4 separate regions of the Homo sapiens genome follow, and all the other regions are linked to region 3. Evidence: promoter capture Hi-C in 16 types of primary human blood cells and fetal thymus (Javierre and others, 2016). All regions are on one chromosome and are shown on one strand. Each heading gives the region's core, a stretch centred on a gene start or on the middle of the fragment in contact. The rest is flanking DNA. Distances are from core to core; before and after follow the strand shown. Region 1 overlaps RNF220 (ring finger protein 220). Region 2 holds the start of CDC20 (cell division cycle 20). Region 3 holds the start of ATP6V0B (ATPase H+ transporting V0 subunit b). Region 4 holds the start of HYI-AS1 (HYI antisense RNA 1).

The links. The method cuts DNA at HindIII sites, captures the fragments that hold promoters and counts their contacts. A CHiCAGO score of 5 or more calls a contact.
Region 1: a fragment that was not itself captured here is called in contact with the fragment with the promoter of ATP6V0B in region 3 in 1 of 17 cell types (fetal thymus); the score reaches 6.2 in fetal thymus.
Region 2: a fragment that was not itself captured here is called in contact with the fragment with the promoter of ATP6V0B in region 3 in 8 of 17 cell types (fetal thymus, total CD8 T cells, total B cells and 5 more); the score reaches 16.0 in fetal thymus.
Region 4: a fragment that was not itself captured here is called in contact with the fragment with the promoter of ATP6V0B in region 3 in 1 of 17 cell types (fetal thymus); the score reaches 5.5 in fetal thymus.

The regions. Positions count from the first base shown.
Region 1 is chr1:44,634,744-44,639,350 of GRCh38, reverse strand. RNF220 (ring finger protein 220) reads right to left here. Exons shown (of 15, transcript NM_018150.4): 7 at 3,763-3,806; 8 at 3,189-3,321. It overlaps LOC107984950 (a long non-coding RNA gene), which reads left to right. Exons shown (of 2, transcript XR_001738031.2): 2 at 2,894-4,113. Among named protein-coding and RNA genes, the nearest start is that of SNORD145, 34 kb to the left of the region's middle. The HindIII fragment of the contact is 4,145 bases long and covers 775-4,607 here.
Region 2 is chr1:43,355,580-43,359,595 of GRCh38, reverse strand. CDC20 (cell division cycle 20) reads right to left here and starts at 615. Exons shown (of 11, transcript NM_001255.3): 1 at 590-615; 2 at 200-429; 3 at 1-106. The coding sequence starts at 380. It overlaps CDC20-DT (CDC20 divergent transcript), which reads left to right and starts at 923. Exons shown (of 4, transcript NR_183650.1): 1 at 923-1,046; 2 at 1,488-1,554; 3 at 1,696-1,793. RefSeq lists silencers at 427-576, 767-876 and enhancers at 319-827, 1,167-1,226, 1,338-1,846. The HindIII fragment of the contact is 210 bases long and covers 1,146-1,355 here.
Region 3 is chr1:43,972,490-43,976,492 of GRCh38, reverse strand. ATP6V0B (ATPase H+ transporting V0 subunit b) reads right to left here and starts at 1,533. Exons shown (of 8, transcript NM_004047.5): 1 at 1,386-1,533; 2 at 645-693; 3 at 320-403; 4 at 114-191. The coding sequence starts at 1,452. It overlaps LOC124904167 (a long non-coding RNA gene), which reads left to right and starts at 1,628. Exons shown (of 2, transcript XR_007066053.1): 1 at 1,628-2,050; 2 at 2,606-3,128. DPH2 (diphthamide biosynthesis 2) reads right to left here. Exons shown (of 6, transcript NM_001384.5): 6 at 3,124-4,003. The coding sequence ends at 3,954. RefSeq lists silencers at 995-1,044, 1,445-1,494 and enhancers at 714-1,546, 1,745-1,794, 1,845-1,964, 1,547-2,380, 3,611-4,003. The HindIII fragment of the contact is 1,435 bases long and covers 613-2,047 here.
Region 4 is chr1:43,453,056-43,457,068 of GRCh38, reverse strand. SZT2 (SZT2 subunit of KICSTOR complex) reads right to left here. Exons shown (of 72, transcript NM_001365999.1): 72 at 2,822-4,013. It overlaps HYI-AS1 (HYI antisense RNA 1), which reads right to left and starts at 3,142. Exons shown (of 2, transcript NR_174945.1): 1 at 3,016-3,142; 2 at 70-491. It overlaps HYI (hydroxypyruvate isomerase (putative)), which reads left to right and starts at 3,138. Exons shown (of 8, transcript NM_001190880.3): 1 at 3,138-3,474; 2 at 3,572-3,683. The coding sequence starts at 3,276. RefSeq lists silencers at 3,102-3,401, 3,512-3,571. The HindIII fragment of the contact is 279 bases long and covers 1,546-1,824 here.

The DNA of each region.
Region 1 (4,607 bases), core at 1,598-4,097, 660 kb before region 3:
AGTTGGGTGAACTCTCACTGGCAACCAACACACAGGAGGGACCATGGTTCACCACTATAGGTCTCTTCTCCAGGATCCAGGAGCTGGATGGAGGACAGGAGAGGAAAGGCATGGCTCCTTAGTCACACACCTCCTTAGACTACAGGTGGAAGCAGGCTTGTCTTAAGGGCTGTATAGTTAGGTTCCCCTGTAGTCTGCTTCTCTAGCCTAGAAGCCCCTTGCTCTGCCCAGGTTTGGCATGGTACCCAAGAAAAACATCTTTTCTCCCTAACTGCGGATCTCTTTTAGTGGAATGTTGGTGGCGCACTAGGCTCTGTGTGCTGTCCTTTATGTAAAGAGCAGTAGCAGGTTAGAAAATCTATGGTTCTGAAAGGACAATCAACAACTTAGACACACAGCTTAAGTATTTCTTCTAGAATTGGGAAGGTCAGAGTGCCTCCTAGGCAGCAAAAATTCCTTCCAACTTACTTTCTTGAAGTAATACCTATTTCCTTTAGTCTTTTCAAAAATCTGTTTCCAGTGGGACCTACCTCAGTGCTCACCTGCTCTGTCTGCTTCTTTATTTTGTCCTAAAATATCAATCCGAGTACTCCCAGGCCTGAGATATCTGGAGCTCCTCCTCAGTAACCACAGGTCCCCATCTCTAAGGCCTGTTGCCCTCAGCCAAGTGTCTCCACCGAAACTCTTGCCCGTTCACTGCTTCCCACAGCAGATTACATTTGAGGTAACCGATCTGATCCATCAGACCAACCTCCAGGGGCCTGGTGGGAAGCTTTGCTGAGGATGAAGAAGAGGCCCTACTCTGGGAGGAGGGATGGGGGTGATCGGATACAGGAACTTATCTGCAATTCTTCACTTCTTTCATATCTAACAACGACAGCAATCTCTGTTCTGTCAGCACGCACAGCGCAGTTTAAATGGGCCTCGCCACTCGCCTGCTCATCCTGCCTCTGCCTCCTTCTCTCTGAAGTCTGCTGGGCAGCTTCTTCAGCTGGCGTTATCACTCCCTCTAACCGGTCTTGGCAGGCAATCTAATTCCTCCTGAAAAGGTCACCGCCATTTTAACTGCCTTTCAATCACATTAAGCACGCGCTGCCCGGCTTGCAGCCCGGCCCGCCCGGCGGGCGATCAATGCGCTGCACTGACACCAGCCCGCCTGGCGAGGCCACACCCAACCCCCCAAGAGTTAGGGCCTATCAGTCCTGGCCAGGGAGGGTAGGCTGACAGATGGCCAGCTTTTGCAGACAGGGTTTTGGGGGCAGAGGCAGTAGGGATCAGCCAGGGCCTCCCTTTGATAGCCCCCCCACTGAGGAGCCTCAGCCTCCTCCGCTCCACTGCGCCCCGCTCTCTGCCTCGTGGCCCCCGCTGATCTCGCTGTAAAACAGCCTTTCAAGTCTGCCTGTCTTTTGACTGCACTAAGCTGTTTAAGAGGCGGCAGCAGCTTCTATCAGGAAAGCTGGAGCAATTCTCTGCAGATAAAGGCACCTCCGGCCCCTGTTCCCTCTTCAAGTCTCACTCTCATTCTCGCTCTCCAAATCGCTCAAAGAAAAGCCCCCTTTGAACTCCCCTCAGGAATTCTTGAAAGGAACAACCTCACAGTGTAAACACTCAGGGAAAACGGATACCCGCCCGGGGCCTAAGAGCCCCTCACACTGCTGTGCAAGTGCATCCCGGCACAGGGGAAATACTCTTGTCAAATCAGCAGGCCCTTTGCAGCTTTATCCTCCATAAGCCCTGTCTGGTGCCCAGAAGCCATCAGGTCCAGGTCTGTGCCAAGGAACCTAAGAAGGTGCCACAGCAATGGAGGATGTGAGCAGTTGCAGCTGCCAACAGAGCTAACCAGAGCAGCACGTTGAAACTGACCCTGTGTGGCTGCCATCGGACACCCATGTGTCCAACTCATGGGACAGTCGTCAGCCCTGCTGCTCACTCTTCTAGGGCCTCAGATACTCGAAGGCTCCAGTACGGGATGAGTGAAATGGCAAACTAACACTCTCCAGCTCCGGCTCAGGGAGACTGTTTGGTCTGACTAACCTTCCTGATTTATGTTTTGGCTTGCCCCCAAACACCTGGGTAATGTGAGAGACGCCCAGAGGCATAATGTCTCATCTGGGCTCTTAGCCCCTTCGTGGAACCAGTCTGCACTGGACGGCCCTGCAGAGACCACTCCTCAGCATCTGCCCAGGTAGCACGGCCCCACGAAGGCAGAGAACTTCTTCCCAGCTGCTGTGAGATTCCCCAGGGACCATACACAGCAGTATTCCCAAAGGTGTTGCCCAGAGAGAGAGGCAGACGGGAAGCAGATTGGCTCACTTAATGACCACAAGCTGCAGTACCAGCTGTGCTTGTGCACAGAAAGAGAGAAGAGCTGGAGGCCAAGAGGCAGACAGCTCCCCTTTTCCCCTGCCCAAGGCTGGGGAGTTTAACAAGTCACTAACCCTGGGCACCCAACCAATTCTGCTGTCTGACCTGGTGGGGGGTGTCAAGCCTTGCTCTTCCAAGGAGCTGGGAGGGCACTGGAGATGGGCAGGGCCCTGCACACTCCTTTGTAGCAACTGGGGAGAGCCCAAGGGAAGGAGGGAGCAGCTGGGCCCAGGCCCCTCTTGCTTCAGGGCAGAGGGCGCCCAGGGAGAAGGGATGGGATCAGAGCTAAAATTAGATTCACCAATGAAGCTCATGGGAGGTCAAATTTTGCCATAACTCACTCTCCTCTGTAACTGATTTCCCTGACATAGGGCTGAAGAGGAGGAGGAGGAAAATCCAATGTGTTTGCCTGGAAGCCCTCAGGGCCCCCAGTGCTGGAGGTGTACAGCAGGTTGCTGGATTCTCATTTATCAGCCTTAAGAGGGATGGAGTGATAAATGCATAACCGTCCCTTTAATATTTTATGCAGGTGCTAACGCGGCTTGGCTGTCACCTTCAATGCATCACCCGAAGCTGAGAGCCCCCCTTCGTCACTCCTAGCTTGCAGCCTCACAATTCCATTTCCCCACCCAAATACATCCATTTTAATATGCACATCACAGGCAGGCAGCACGGTCACAAAGGAGCCCCACCAGCAGCAGTCCCCACGTGGTGGAACGGATGGATGACCAGCCACCAGCCTCGGCCTCTTGGCTTCCAGCAGATGGATACCCAGCAGAGGCCTGGCACCAGAGTGCCAATGTCTACGTGTCAGCTGCTTGTACCTCGGAAGCCACCTTCCAGGAGAGTGGTGGCCCGTATCCGCTTCTGTCCACACCACTCATACTCCTCAAAGCGGTTGTTGTTCTCATGCTCGATGTCCACAGCATCATCCTCAGCCATGCAGGAGCCTTCCCTCTGTGAAGAGCAGAGCAGGATCATGCTGGGCCCAGGCCATCCCCACCTGCTCCCCACAGTCTGCAACGAAGGCACAGCTCTAGCCCCAGCTGTGGTGTGCCAAGTGGGCCCTCAGCTCTAGGGCTCCTTTGAAGCAAACCAATTTAGAGGTCAAAGACCTGGGCCTCTTCCCAATAGTTTTCCGCTGGAGCCCAAGGAGGGAATGAGTGAGAGTGAAAGCAAAAGGAGAGAGCAGTGGTCAGAAGGGAAGAAGCTGCTGAGACCACATGGAGACCCCAAGAGCCCACAGATTCAGGGGCAGTCAGCAGCTAGTGTCGGGGGAAGGGAGCGGGGAAGGAAGGTGGGTGGTGATGGCCCCTCTACCTTAGAAAGGCAATGCTCCACATGCCTACTCATCTCCTGCTCCGATCCTGCCAGGGGGCGGTTGCACAGGGGACATACCTGCCCTTCATCTTGCTTCCTCCGTTTCATTTTCCCAATCCGAGCTGCACGGGGAAACCGAAAACAAAGCACAGAACAAGCAGACGGTCACTGCAGCCCCCAGGGTCCCAGTGGAGCTGACACATCCTGACCTCTTGCCAGCCATTGGCCTTTTTATTCAGTGCCTGATCTGGCCCTCATCTTGAAATACCTCCTGCTCCTTTGGGGACTGGGCTTTGCCAAGAGCACCTGGGGAGGAGACTGGTGCTAACTAAGCCAGTGAGTAAGTCCACTCTTTGGCTGCAGCTGGTGCAAGGTCTACCCATACCTTTCTATTTGCAGTGTTTAATAAAAATCCAGTGAGCAAAGACACTCCATGTTGCTAGGTATCTCTCCAGAAGGCCAAGACCATGAACTCTTTTGGTGTCAGGAAATACAACTCTAAAGAGCATCTCTTGACTAGAACCTAACCCCTCCGATGGCCTGACTTGGCCTGCTGTTCACTCATCAGCTAAATCCTCTTTGGTTCCTGGGCCAAGAGCCCTGAGGTACAGCTCCTAGCATCCCACCTAGAATCTTATCAGGAAGAATTTCTCTGAGGTCCACTAATCCCATTTCACAGAAGAGGAGACTGAGGCCCAGTCATAAAGGTAAGACGGTCTGGGTCAGACCTTTGGCAGCCAGGTCAGAAGGCTCAGGGAACCCTGAGAAGGCAGCCCTTATTGTGCCCACCCGAACCTGTTCCATCATTTCTAATCAGTACAGAGGGGCTGGCAGGCCCTGGAGGCAGAGGGCTGCCTGCCATGTTGTCCCACAGGGGGCTCAGTTCCAAAGTGCACACTGCAAGCCCACAACACTGCTAATTA
Region 2 (4,016 bases), core at 1-2,500, 620 kb after region 3:
CTCAGGAGGAAGCTGGCCACCTCCATCTGGGCAGCACTGCGATGGGGGATATAGCGGTCACCGCCAGGTTTGCTAGGAGTGGTCTGAACCTTGGAACTGGATTTGCCTGGGGCGGAGAAAGAGAAGACAGTCTGACCAGGCTCCCCAGGGAGAAAGTATGAAGGCTGCTCTCACTCAGTTCCTTTGGCACCTCACTGACCAGGAGTTCGGCCCGGAGTCCTGCCGGCGCTGTGGGATCGGTTGGCGGCCCGCATGGGTGAGGGGGCCGGGCCTGCGGCTTCCTTGGCTTTGCGCTGCCAGCGCGCAGGGGGTGCATTGGGGATGGGTGCATCCAGCTGAAGCAGCGAGTGCAGGTCACTCTCGAACGCGAACTGTGCCATGGGAGCGCCCGCAGGGGGAGGGGTCCTTGCAGTTGGTGCCTACGGAGCCCTGGAGGAAAGGAGGCGACGGTGCTCAGGGGACAGAAAGGGACCCCTTCGCTCCTGGCCGGCCACAAAATCAGGGCCACCCTCGGCTGCAGCCCCTTCCGGCCTAGCACCCCCTCCCCCTGGCCACGGCCCCACCTCGGCTCAGCCCCACCACCTCTCACCGTGCCCTCCGGAGCAGTTCCGACCGGCTTTAACACGCCTGGCTTACGCCTCTTAAACTCTCCGCTCCGAGCGCCTATTGGCTCCTTCAAAATCCAACCGTCGCAACCGTTGCCCTAGCCCATTGGCCTCTCCGGCGAAGGGGGCGGGCCTTCCGGGGAAAGTCTCAGCTATCACGAGAGTCTAGCGGCGGAGCGCGATTTGAAGGGTACGAGAGGGGCTGGGAGCCGGCGCCAGAGGACTAGTACTGGAAAGCCGGCCGGGACAGGGCGGGGCAGGGCGGGGCCGGGTGGGGCCTGCGCTGCCTCAGCGTCCTGGAGTCGTCTCGGTTCGCCCTTTTGCGTGCCTTCCACCGCCGCGAGCTCGGAATGTCTGGCCCCGGGTGCTTCAGGGTCCGAGAACCTGCAGAAGTTCACACTTAAATCCTACACGAGAGTCGTATTTATGATGCAGAACTCGGTGCAGAACCCGATGGAGTGCCCAAGGCGCTTGAGCCGTTCCTAGAAGGGGAAGGAGAGCCGCGGGCGGCAGCGGGGCAGGGGACGGAATTGGGAAGCTTGGGAGCAGGAAGAAGGCCAGAGCTACTTAGGGTACATTCCACTTTTGCTTGGCGCCGGGTAGGAACCCTGCTAGAAAGGAAGTAACGTGTGTTTGTCTCGTTTGCTGTTGTTTTACAAACAGGGAAAATGAGGTTGAAAAGGGTGAATGAATTCCTTAAGGTCAAGAAAAAGGATCGGTATTCAAACCTGCCTATCTGGAAGATAAGCTTAGACTGCCCTACAGGAGGCACTGTGGCTTATCCCCTTGGGGCTTTAAAGATGTGAGGACCTTAGAGATCCATTAGTCTAACCTGTGCGTGGTGCAGCCTCCCCACCCCGACAACAAATCCATATTTTACAGATGGAGAAACGGAGGCCCAGGGAAGGGATGTGCCCGAGGTCATACAAAGAAGTTTGTGGGAATCCAGGTCTGACTCGCACTCAATCTAGTGCTCTAATAATGACTTGAGTGAATTGTATGAATGTGCTCAGAGGTGGAGCAGCAATCATAAAAGTAATAATGGTACCATTTATGGACCATCTAACTACTGTGTTAAAACAATTTACAGGCCATGCGCGGTGGCTCACGCTTGTAATCCCAGCACTTTGGGAGGCCGAGGCGGGCAGATCACGAAGTCAGAAGATCGAGACCATCCTGGCTAACACGGTGAAACCCCGTCTTTACTAAAAATACAAAAAATTAGCCGGGCTTGGTGGCGGGCGCCTGTAGTTCCAGCTACTCGAGAGGCTGAGGCAGGAGAATGGCGTGAACCCGGGAGGCGGAGCTTGCAGTGAGCCGAGATCGAGCCACTGCACTCCAGCCTGGGCAACAGAGCGATACTCTGTCTGAAAAAAAAAAAAAAAGTTTACATACATTATCGAGTTCAATCCTTAATCCCATAAGGCAGATAGATACCCCATCTTCCCTTTACAGAAAAAAGAAACTGGGTCAGAAAGATTAGAAACTTGCCCAAAGGCATGCAGCCAATAATAAGTAGGGGAGCCCAGGATTCAAACTATCTGACTAATCCCTGCAATCTAAACAATACGCTATACTGTCCCAGAAAGAGGCTGGAAAAATCATTTTCAGTCATTAGCTTAAAGTCCACTCCGATGCTTACAGATAATGTTATTATCTTTGACTTGAAGCCTTTGCATTCTCTATTTCCAATTACCTTGGAAAATAAGGAATTGGATATGCTTAGGTTAGAGGTGGGGAATTCCCAGAAAACATAGAAAAGGTTGTCTCATGTCAAGTTGGTCAGGGTCTTAAATGTTAAGCTAAAGACTTTGGACTTCATCTGCTAGGCATTGTGGTACCTGTGGGGTTTCTGTGTAGGGAAGGACCAAATAAAACATCTGAGGGGGGGGATATGGCAATAATTTGCAACTTCTGGTGGTAGCTATAGAGAAGGATAAAGGGTATAGCCTCAGGGAATTTGTACATTTAAAAATAAAGGATTTGGGCAGGTTGTCATGGTTCACTCCTGTAATCCCAGCACTTTGGGAGGCCAAGGCGGGCAGATCACTTGAAGTCAGTAGTTCAAGACTAGTCGGGCCAATGTGGCGAAACCCTGTCTCTACTAGAAGTACAAAATTAGCCAGGTGTGGTGGTGCACACCTGTAATCCCAGCTACCTGGGAGGCTGAGGCAGGGGAATCGCTTGAACCTGGGAGGCGCAGGTTGTAGTGAGCGAGGTCGCGCCACTGCACTCTAGCCTGGGTGACAGAGGGAGACTTTGTCTCAAAATAATAATAATAATAAATGAATGAAGGAAGGCAATGGAAATTATCCAGACATGGATCTTGAAGTGGGAGATACCCTAATATATGTAGTCAAGTGGAATGATGACAGAAAGGGTCAGATTTGGCCATTGAAAATCAAATTACCGATGACTTTGGAGAGAGCAGGATCAGGAAAGTGGGTGCTTGAGATCCATTTTGGAGGAGTTGCGGAAAGAATGAAATAGGGAGAACGGGAAGCCGGCAAGTATAGGTGACTTGTGTAGCCCATCCCCTGATATCCTCTATATTCGTTTGCTAGAGTTACTGTAACAAAGTACCACAAACTGGCTTAAATGACAGAAATTGGTTGTCTCACAATTCTGGAGGTTAGAAGTTCCAGATCAAGGTGTCATGAGAGTTGTGTGAGAACCGTGAGGAAGAATCTGTTCCATGCCTCTCTCCTGGCTTCTGGTGGTGGTTTGCCGGCAATCTTTGTCATTCCTTGGCTTATAGAAGAATCGCCCTGTTCTCTGCCTTCATCTTCACTTGGCTTTCTTTCTGTGTGTATGTGTGTCCAATTTTCTCTTTTTATAAGAATACCAATCATATTGAACTAGGGCCCTGACCTCATCTTAACTAATTATATCTGCAATGACCCTATTTCCTAATAAGGTCGTATTTGAAGTACTGGGAGTTAAGACTTCAACATCTGGCTGGGTGTGGTGGCTTACACTTGTAATCCCAGCACTTTGGAAGGCCAAGGCCAGAGGATTGCTTGAGCTCATGAGTTTGGGACCAGTCTGGGCAACATAGTATCACCTTGTCTCTAAAAAAAATACAGAAAACAGGCCTGCGCGGTGGCTCACACCTGTAATCCCAGCACTTTGGGAGGCTGAGGCGGGCGGATCACTAGGTCAGGAGATCGAGACCATCCTGGCTAACGCGGTGAAACCCTGTCCTGCGAAAAATATAAAAAAAATTCGCCGGGCATGGTGGCGGGCGCCTGTAGTCTCAGCTACTCGGGAGGCTGAGGCAGGAGAATGGCGTGAACTCGGGAGGTGGAGCTTGCAGTAGGCCGAGATCGCGCCACTGCACTCCAGCCTGGGCGACAGAGCAAGATTCCATCTCAAAAAAAAATAATAATAATACAGAAAACATTAGCCAAG
Region 3 (4,003 bases), core at 284-2,783:
CTATAACATCCCATCCCACAAGGTGGCTTGTCAGAAACAGTATGTCAGATCAAACACACAGGCAGCGCCAACACAGCTGGTTCTGACAAAAGTCCAAGGACCCTGACACTTACCTGACCAGGTTCTTGGTCTTGATCCTGGGGGCCTTCACTCCTCCACCAATGATGGAGGAGCCGGTAATATAGATGCCCCTGGTGGAAGGATAAAAAACTGATGAGCAGAGCCCAAGCTGTCACTGCCCTCAGCATGCCTAAGACCCCAGTGACACCACCTGCCATGACTCAGCCCCTGCCCCCAGTCCCACCACCCCAATACTCACCAGGCTGCCCCAACCACAGACAGGGAGATAGCTAGGCCAATGCCCAGGTTGGACCACATGAAGGGCGAAGTCTCCGTCAGGAACCTGTTGTGGAAGCAGAGAAGAAAGCAGTTCAGCTCTAGCAGGGAAGCGGAGCACAAAATCTTAACCCCTCAAACCCCCTTCAACCCCACCACCAGTTCTACAGGCAACAACTGACCGCGTATTTCCCAAAGGTCCATGTCCCAGGCAGGCAGTGGTGTGGGGGAGGGACTCAGACCAGAGAAAAGAAGAGAGGCTGCAGGGAAGAAGCTTCAAGGGGAATCCTCCCCCTGCCCTCCCTTACCATGCCACATCAAAGCGGAAGCCCAAATCAAAAATGGTGTAGCAGACTCCTGCAGCAGTGAGGGAGAAAAAGGGGGTTACGGGCTGCTCGGTAGAGAGAAGTTCTTCAACCTAAAGTAGCTGCCGAGCTGAAGGGCCACCTCCCTGAAGGGGCGTCCTCAGGCTGCCCCCAGGTGACAGTACAGCTGTGTAGACAGATTCCTCTGCTTAGGCCTCCATTTTCTGCCATTCCCTCGCTAAAACCACCTCCCAGACCAAGCACCTGCGCAGGCAGGGTCGCCACCCGCAAGCCCGAATCCGAGGCGGGACCGAGGGAGCAAGCGCTCCAGCCAGATCCCGCCGGCCCAGTCCGTTCCGCTGTTTACCCAACAAGCTGTGGGTGGGGGAGGGCAAAGCGACTGGGAAAAGAGGAACCGGAGCAGCCGGCTTGTGACCGAGCGGGCCGGTCAGGAGCAAGAAAGGGGGGACAGCAGTGAGACGTGGGAGCGAGGGGAGACAGCGATAGTGGCAGGACGGGGGAGTGCTGCCCTCGCGGCCCCTACCCGCCCGCACCCCTCCTCAAGCAGCTGGAAATCCGGGTCTCCTTTGTCGGAGTCAGAGGCCCTCGCAGGCGCAAGTCCCCAGAGCCTCGGGTGCAGAGCGCGCGGGGGGCCAGTATTCCCCGCAGGCCACTTCCCCGCCGAGTTCCGACCCGGCCAGCTCGGCCGCGATGCTGCTCCCGCCCGCCAGGACCCGGCCTCACCCACGGCCAGCGCGCAGGCCCAGAAGGCCACGAAGACCCCGGAGTAGAGCAGTGCTAGCCCCGTCATGGCGGCGACGGCGGCGGGGGTCGGAACGGCGGGGCCGGAGCTACAAACGCGTCCCAGCGTCCACCGTCCGTCCCGCAGTCTGTCCGCCCGCCCCGCAGCGTCACCTAACTCGCCCACGTGATGCGCCGGTACCACGTGACCCCACGCCGGTTCCCCGCGCAGCGCCGCCGCCCGTCTAGAGCAAGGCGACGCTGGAACCGCAGGCGCTGGGGATTGTGGTAGTTGTAGTCACGCGTCTCGGCGGAGGCTTGGGCGCCCTCCTCTCTAGGAACTTCGACATCTGGCCGGTCCTTCTCGAGTCTCTCCACCTCGCCCTGCCAGCCCTGTTTTATTCCCGAGCCTGCTCGCGGGCCCCTAAGGCGTCCTCTCTGGCAGCCGTGCGTCCTAGCCTGTGGCGGGTGGCGCCGCGCGTGCCCTCTGCCTCACCTTGCTCACGGCGTCTCTCCGCCCCAGTGCGCCTGTTGGCGCTCGCTCCGCTGCCTGGCTAACACCTGCTGTCCTCCGAAATCGTCCTTCCGGCAAGCCTTCCCTAACCCAGTGGCAGGGAAGCGCGTTTGCTGGGCTCCCGCGATGTCCTGGTGATGCTTATTAAGCTTCAGTAAGATGTCACTACCCTGTCGAAATGCCCTGATGGCTCCCATTTCATTCAGGAGAAAAGCCAAAGTTCTCACAATAGCCTGCTAGGCTCCCCACGCCCCTCAGCTGACTTCACCTTCTAATATTCCCCCACTAACTCCCTCCTCTGGCTGCACTGCCCTCCTTGCTATTTCTTTGAACGTGCCAACCATACCGCGACCTCACTGCCCTTGCACTTGCTCTCTCTGCTTCTCCTAACTATACATGCGGCTCATCCTGTAACTTCCTTTCAGTTTTTGCTCACCTTCTTGAAAAGGCCTTCTCTGACCATTCTGTTTAATATTCCACCCCACTTAAACGCTCCTCTGCTTCCCAGCTTTACATTTCTCACGGTACTTACTGATCACCATTTGGCATACTAAGTATTTTATTTGTCCAACTCCCCTGGAAGAGTGGAAGCACCATGGCTTTTGTGTCGCTCACTGCTGTATTTCCAGTACCTGGCACAGAGTGTGTCCTCAGTACATATTTGTAGAACACATGACTGATGCCCACTTTGTCTGGGTTACCTTGTTAGCTTACAGCTCTGCCTCCACCATTAGACTAGGCATTCCCTGAGGGCAGGGACCACATCTCCTTTGTTCACCTTCAATACCCTCGACAATGCCACTGTGACCAGATTCTCAACAAATGTGGGGAAGAAGAGGCGAGTCTTTTCATTTCACCCCTCTCCACCTTTAGGGCCCAGCAACCCCACTTGCTTGAAGCATCCGCCATGTTGGTTCATGTTTAAGCCCAAAGGTCTTTTTCACTCCTTTTCTCCTGACAATTATTTTTTCCTCCAAAAGATCCAGCATAGGTGTTATGCCCTCTGGGAAGCCTCCTCTTAGTCCTTGTCAGGTATCTCCTGTGGGATCCAGCTGTCCCTGGGGCTTCCCTCCTCCCAGATAGAGCTGTTTCACTGTGTACTGACTGCGTATTTAACTCTCTTTCCAGGTACACTGGAAAGGAATCTGGTTAAATACAGTTAACATCTACATCCCAGGACCAGTGCAGGACCTGCAGTATTTCATGAATTAAAAAGAAACACAAAGAGAAAAGGTATCTGGTTTATTTAGGTTGCTGTGATCTCCCTGAGAAATAAGAGTCAGTATAGACCAACGCTGTCCAACCAATAGAACTTTCTGCCATGATGGCATATCCTGTAGCTGCACTGTCCCCTCATGTGGCTGTCTGAACACTTGAATGACTAATGTGACTGAGAAACTGAGCTTTTAATCTTAATTAACTTAAATTTAAGTTTAGCCACATGTATTTAGTGGCTACTGTACTGGACAGTGCAGGTCTAGCTAGACCAGTGGTTCTCAATTGAGGGCAATTTTCCCCCACAGATAACATTTGCCAAGGTCTGGAGATATTTTTGGTTGTCACAACTGGGGGAGTGCTTCTGATGTCTAGTGGGCAGAGGCCAGGGATGCTGCTGAGCACCCTACCATACACCAGACAGCCCCACAACAAAGAATTATCTGGCCCCAAATGTCAAGTACGAGTTTGAGAAACCCTGGTCTAGACTGTCTAGCACCTGCCTTTTGACAAGGACAGACCCTCAACTGCAGCCTGGGAACTGGGATTGGCCAAAGGTCCTGGGCTGCCCTCAGGAAGACAGATGGGTCCAGAGGCCTCAGGGAAGTCCCTAAGCCCTTTATTCCATCAGCCAAACAACACGCATTACTGGGCATGTGCTGAGCTTGTGCCAGTGCCAGGACAGGACAGAGACGGATCCTATCCTGTGAAGGGCTGCCTGCTCTCCCTCCTTCCAGGGTCCTTCAAGGATCTTGGCAGGGGGATGGGAGGTTGGTGCAGGGAGCACTAAAGGTCCTAGCAGCCATTCATAAGTCCATCTATGTCTCCAGCCCCACATGGTATCAGCCGCTTCCCTCATCCTCATAGGCGATGGCAATCCCTCGTCTTCCAC
Region 4 (4,013 bases), core at 436-2,935, 520 kb after region 3:
TTGAGATTATAGTGATACCACAATGAGGATGTTAATATCAAATGTGCTAACAGATGGCAGTAATGCATACAGGTTTTAAAAATGTGTTTTTATTAAATATAAGACAGATAAAAAATGATATTTATAAAATATATGTTAGCTCTAAAGAAGAGTAGTAAAATTAACATACATGAATGTGCTATCCAACGTAAGAGAAGGCTCCAATGCTACCCTCTTCTGTCCTCCTCTAGAGGTGGTCACCATTATGCTGAATTTTGTGATAATTATTCACTTGTTCTTCATTGTTTTATCAGAGATGTCCATATTCCTACACAAGATACTGTTGGTTTTCCCTGCCTTTGACTTTATATCAATGGAATCACACTGTAGGTATTTCTCTGTGATTTGCTTGTTCCTCTAGAGATTATGTTTCTGAGATTTATCCACTTGATGCTTTCATACTGATGTTTTTCAGTTCCAATCAAACTTCACTAAGCTCTTCATATATTGTCCTAACACAGGAACAAACTCAGTGTTATCATTTGAGCCACCAGCTTTCTCTTGTACAACATGGTATGACTATACTATTACACAACTCATCTATGTATGGATGGATGGACATTTGGGTTAGTCCCATCTTTTTGCTACATAAATAGTTCTGCTGTGAACATCACTTTACTTCTTTCCTGGTACACTTGTGCAAAACTTTCTTCAGGGGATACACCTGGGAAAGGAACTGTCAGATCATAGGCATATTAGCTTTAAGAGACAATGCCAAATTGTTTTCCAAGGAGGTTATAGTGATTTACACTCCTGTTGGCAGTTGTTCCAAATCCTATCCAATATTTGATAATGTGTTTTTTATTTTTGCCAATGTGGAAGGCATAAAATAGAATTTCATTGAGGTTTTGATTTGCATTTCACATGAGTTGTAATATGTTTTACTGCATTGCCAAATGTTATCCAATGATCAAATGAGACTCTGAACTCTGTACTAAAGTTTTTGCCATTATCCATGCAACTATTTACAAGTTGTTGTTACTTTAAAATCACACCTGTGCAAATTATTTGGTTAAAAGTCAAATACGTACCTGTGAAGTGTGCACAATAAAGCAAAAAAAAAAGGCAAATGCAAAGAATCAAAACTTGTGATAACTTAGTGTCATGCCTGTGTTGCAAGGTGGGATAAGACATAGTCAAAGGTGAATAAAGCAAATAATTTTCATGGACATTGCACTCCTTATATATTTATTTGAGCATATTATGTGAAGGTGGAAGGTGTTGTAAGGGAATTAAGGGGAAAGTGAGTCACCTATGTCTAGTTTATGTATAATCTTTACTGCCCTAAGGCATGTCCAAGGAAAAAAGGGGTGGACAATCGGGAGTTGGACACATTTTGTTTCTGACGCAGAGCTCAGCAGCTGTCAACATCATAAATAGAATTTGCATACTCGGAGATCAACAGTGAGGTGGTAATAAAGGAATTACTTCCTCTAGATGTTACTCTTTGTTGTCAATTTTGGATTGCAAACACACTAAAGTTGGGACTGATTACAATGTTAAGCTTAGTGAGGTCTTGATTGGACGAGAAACACGTTCCAAGACAAGGCAAAGGTCCTAGTGTAAAACCAGCTGCAAAAGAGCATGAAATCAGGTGATCAGTGTCAGCTGGCAGCAGTCTGTTCTTGGAGGCAGAGCTGAAGAAACAGAACCTGCCAAGAATTTGGGTTCACCACGGGATCAGGCTGGATCCCTGGTGTCTGAGCTGGCCTCATTTGAGATGGAGTTGAGTGTTGACAGAACAATCAGTGGGAGCTGGGTGTTCCTAATGTTGCACTTTAAGCTTCTCTGTCAAAGTTAGCACAGACGATAGATCAAGATGACGTTTACTCATGAATTGTTGGGATATAAATTTATATTTTTCAAAGGAAATTTAAGATATCAACAACTTAAATATGTTCCTATTTTTGACCATGTAATTCTACCCATAAGAACCTGCCCAATCAGTTGGGTTATTGTAGATGAAAGTAAAATCATTCAAATTATCTCAAGAAACATTAAGAGGCTATACAGAGACAGAAACCCAGGAAAGTCTAAGCATCCCAGCCTTAAGTGCACAGACCTGGGGGCAGCTATGGGTTTGGGCACCCTTGGGATGACATGGGTTTCTCAGGGTGCTACCTCTATTCACAGGACTTGGTTCCCCTCCTTTCCGCTCTAGCTTTTCTTTACCATAGGACTGTCTTATTTCGTTTCTACAGCCCAGTCACCTTCTGGCAACACCACCTGTTGACTCTCAGCATTTCCTTGTTTGAACTCTTGATTGGTTAAATTACCTTTCCAAACGACGCAAGTAAGAGGTTTTTGGCCAGTCTATGGATTGGCTGCCCTGGGATCAGATGACCTCCCTGGTCCAATCAGCTGAGGCTAAGGCTAAAAAGGGACAGCTCACCCATAGCTGCTCCAATGGGGCGGTTTCCCTTGCAAAAGACTAGCGGCGTGAACGGGCAAACACTGTGATGGACATCTCTAGAAAAAGACTCGGAAAAGAGTCAGAGATAGGGACTAAGAAGTGCCTGAAAGTGCGCTTGCAGCGCGCGTGCACACACACGATATCCAACCACAAAGTACAATAATGACTTGCTGCTTAGGTGTGCGACAATGAGCAGCGAAGGCACTGACTTTGAAGGCTATTGGAAAACACGAGGAAATGCTCACAAAATAATATTCCATGAAAAAGAGCTATAAAACAGCATATACCGAATGATCAGAATTTCCAAAGAAAAAAATTGCATATTTTAAAATTTGGACGGGAAAGCCAACAGGCTAGTGGTGTGATAACTGGCGGTATAAAAGTGCTTCTTTATTTGGTCATACAGCTTTCAAATGTTGCTTAACGAACAGATAGCATTTTTATAATCAGAGGAAAGACTCAGTATTAAAGTGCGCGTCCCATCATTGCAACCGGGCCCTCGGGCAGCCAGCTCTCTCTTGCTTCGCGTCCGGCTCTCAGGCCCTGGAGCTCGGCCTCCCTACCTTCTCCAGGCGCGGGTCCTGCTCCTTTTCCGGCCGCCCTCGCTCCGCCCCTTCGCCTCTCCCCGTGATCCCTCTCTCGCTAACCGTAGGCGCTTTTCGTGAAGGCCCGGGTTTTTACAGCACTTCGCTTTTCTAACCACGAACAGTGCTCGTTCGTTCGCAGGGCCAGCAAGGAGAGCCCCGCCCCCGCCCGCCGCCCGCCGCCCGCCGCCCGCCGCCTTTGGATCCCGCGGACTCCGCCCGGCCCGGCCTCCCCAGGCATGGCGCCGCTGCGCTTCTCCGCCAATCTGTCCTGGCTATTCCCCGAGCTCTCCGGCCTCCCCGCGCGGGTGCGGGCCGCGGGCAGCTCGGGCTTCGAGGCCGTCGAGGTGGCCTGGCCGTACGCGGAGACGCCTGAGGCGCTGGCGCGCGCCGCGCGAGAAGCGGGGCTGCGGCTTGTACTGATCAACACGCCCCCGGGTGCGTCGCGGGCCGGGAGGGCTGGGAGGGCTGGGGGGTGCCGGGGCGCGGGCAGGGGAGTGTCCGAGCCGGGGGCTGAGGCCCGTTCTCTCTGCAGGAGACCAAGAGAAGGGGGAAATGGGGCTGGGGGCCGTCCCCGGGAGACAGGCGGCCTTCCGAGAGGGACTGGAGCAGGCCGTGCGGTATGCCAAAGCCCTGGGCTGTCCCAGGTACCCCGCTCCACCCCACCCCCACCCCTGTGACCCATGACCCTGATGCAGGTTCAGGGAGTCGAGGACGCCAGATCTGAGACGCTCAGAAGTCTGAGCCCACTGGTTTATCTCTGCCTCTGCGGTCCTGGTCCTTTGTAAATTGCCTTTTGTATTTTATCTGTCTTATGCCACTCTGTTTGCCACTCTTTCATGCTCACCCCATGCTGGGATCCCATGCTGGGAGCTCAGTCTGCCTAGGCAGATAGGAGAGTAAATATATACAGTGATGCATTTGAGGACAGGCCTATTCCAGGAAGCTGTGGGAGCAGGGTAGGCACCTAACCCTGT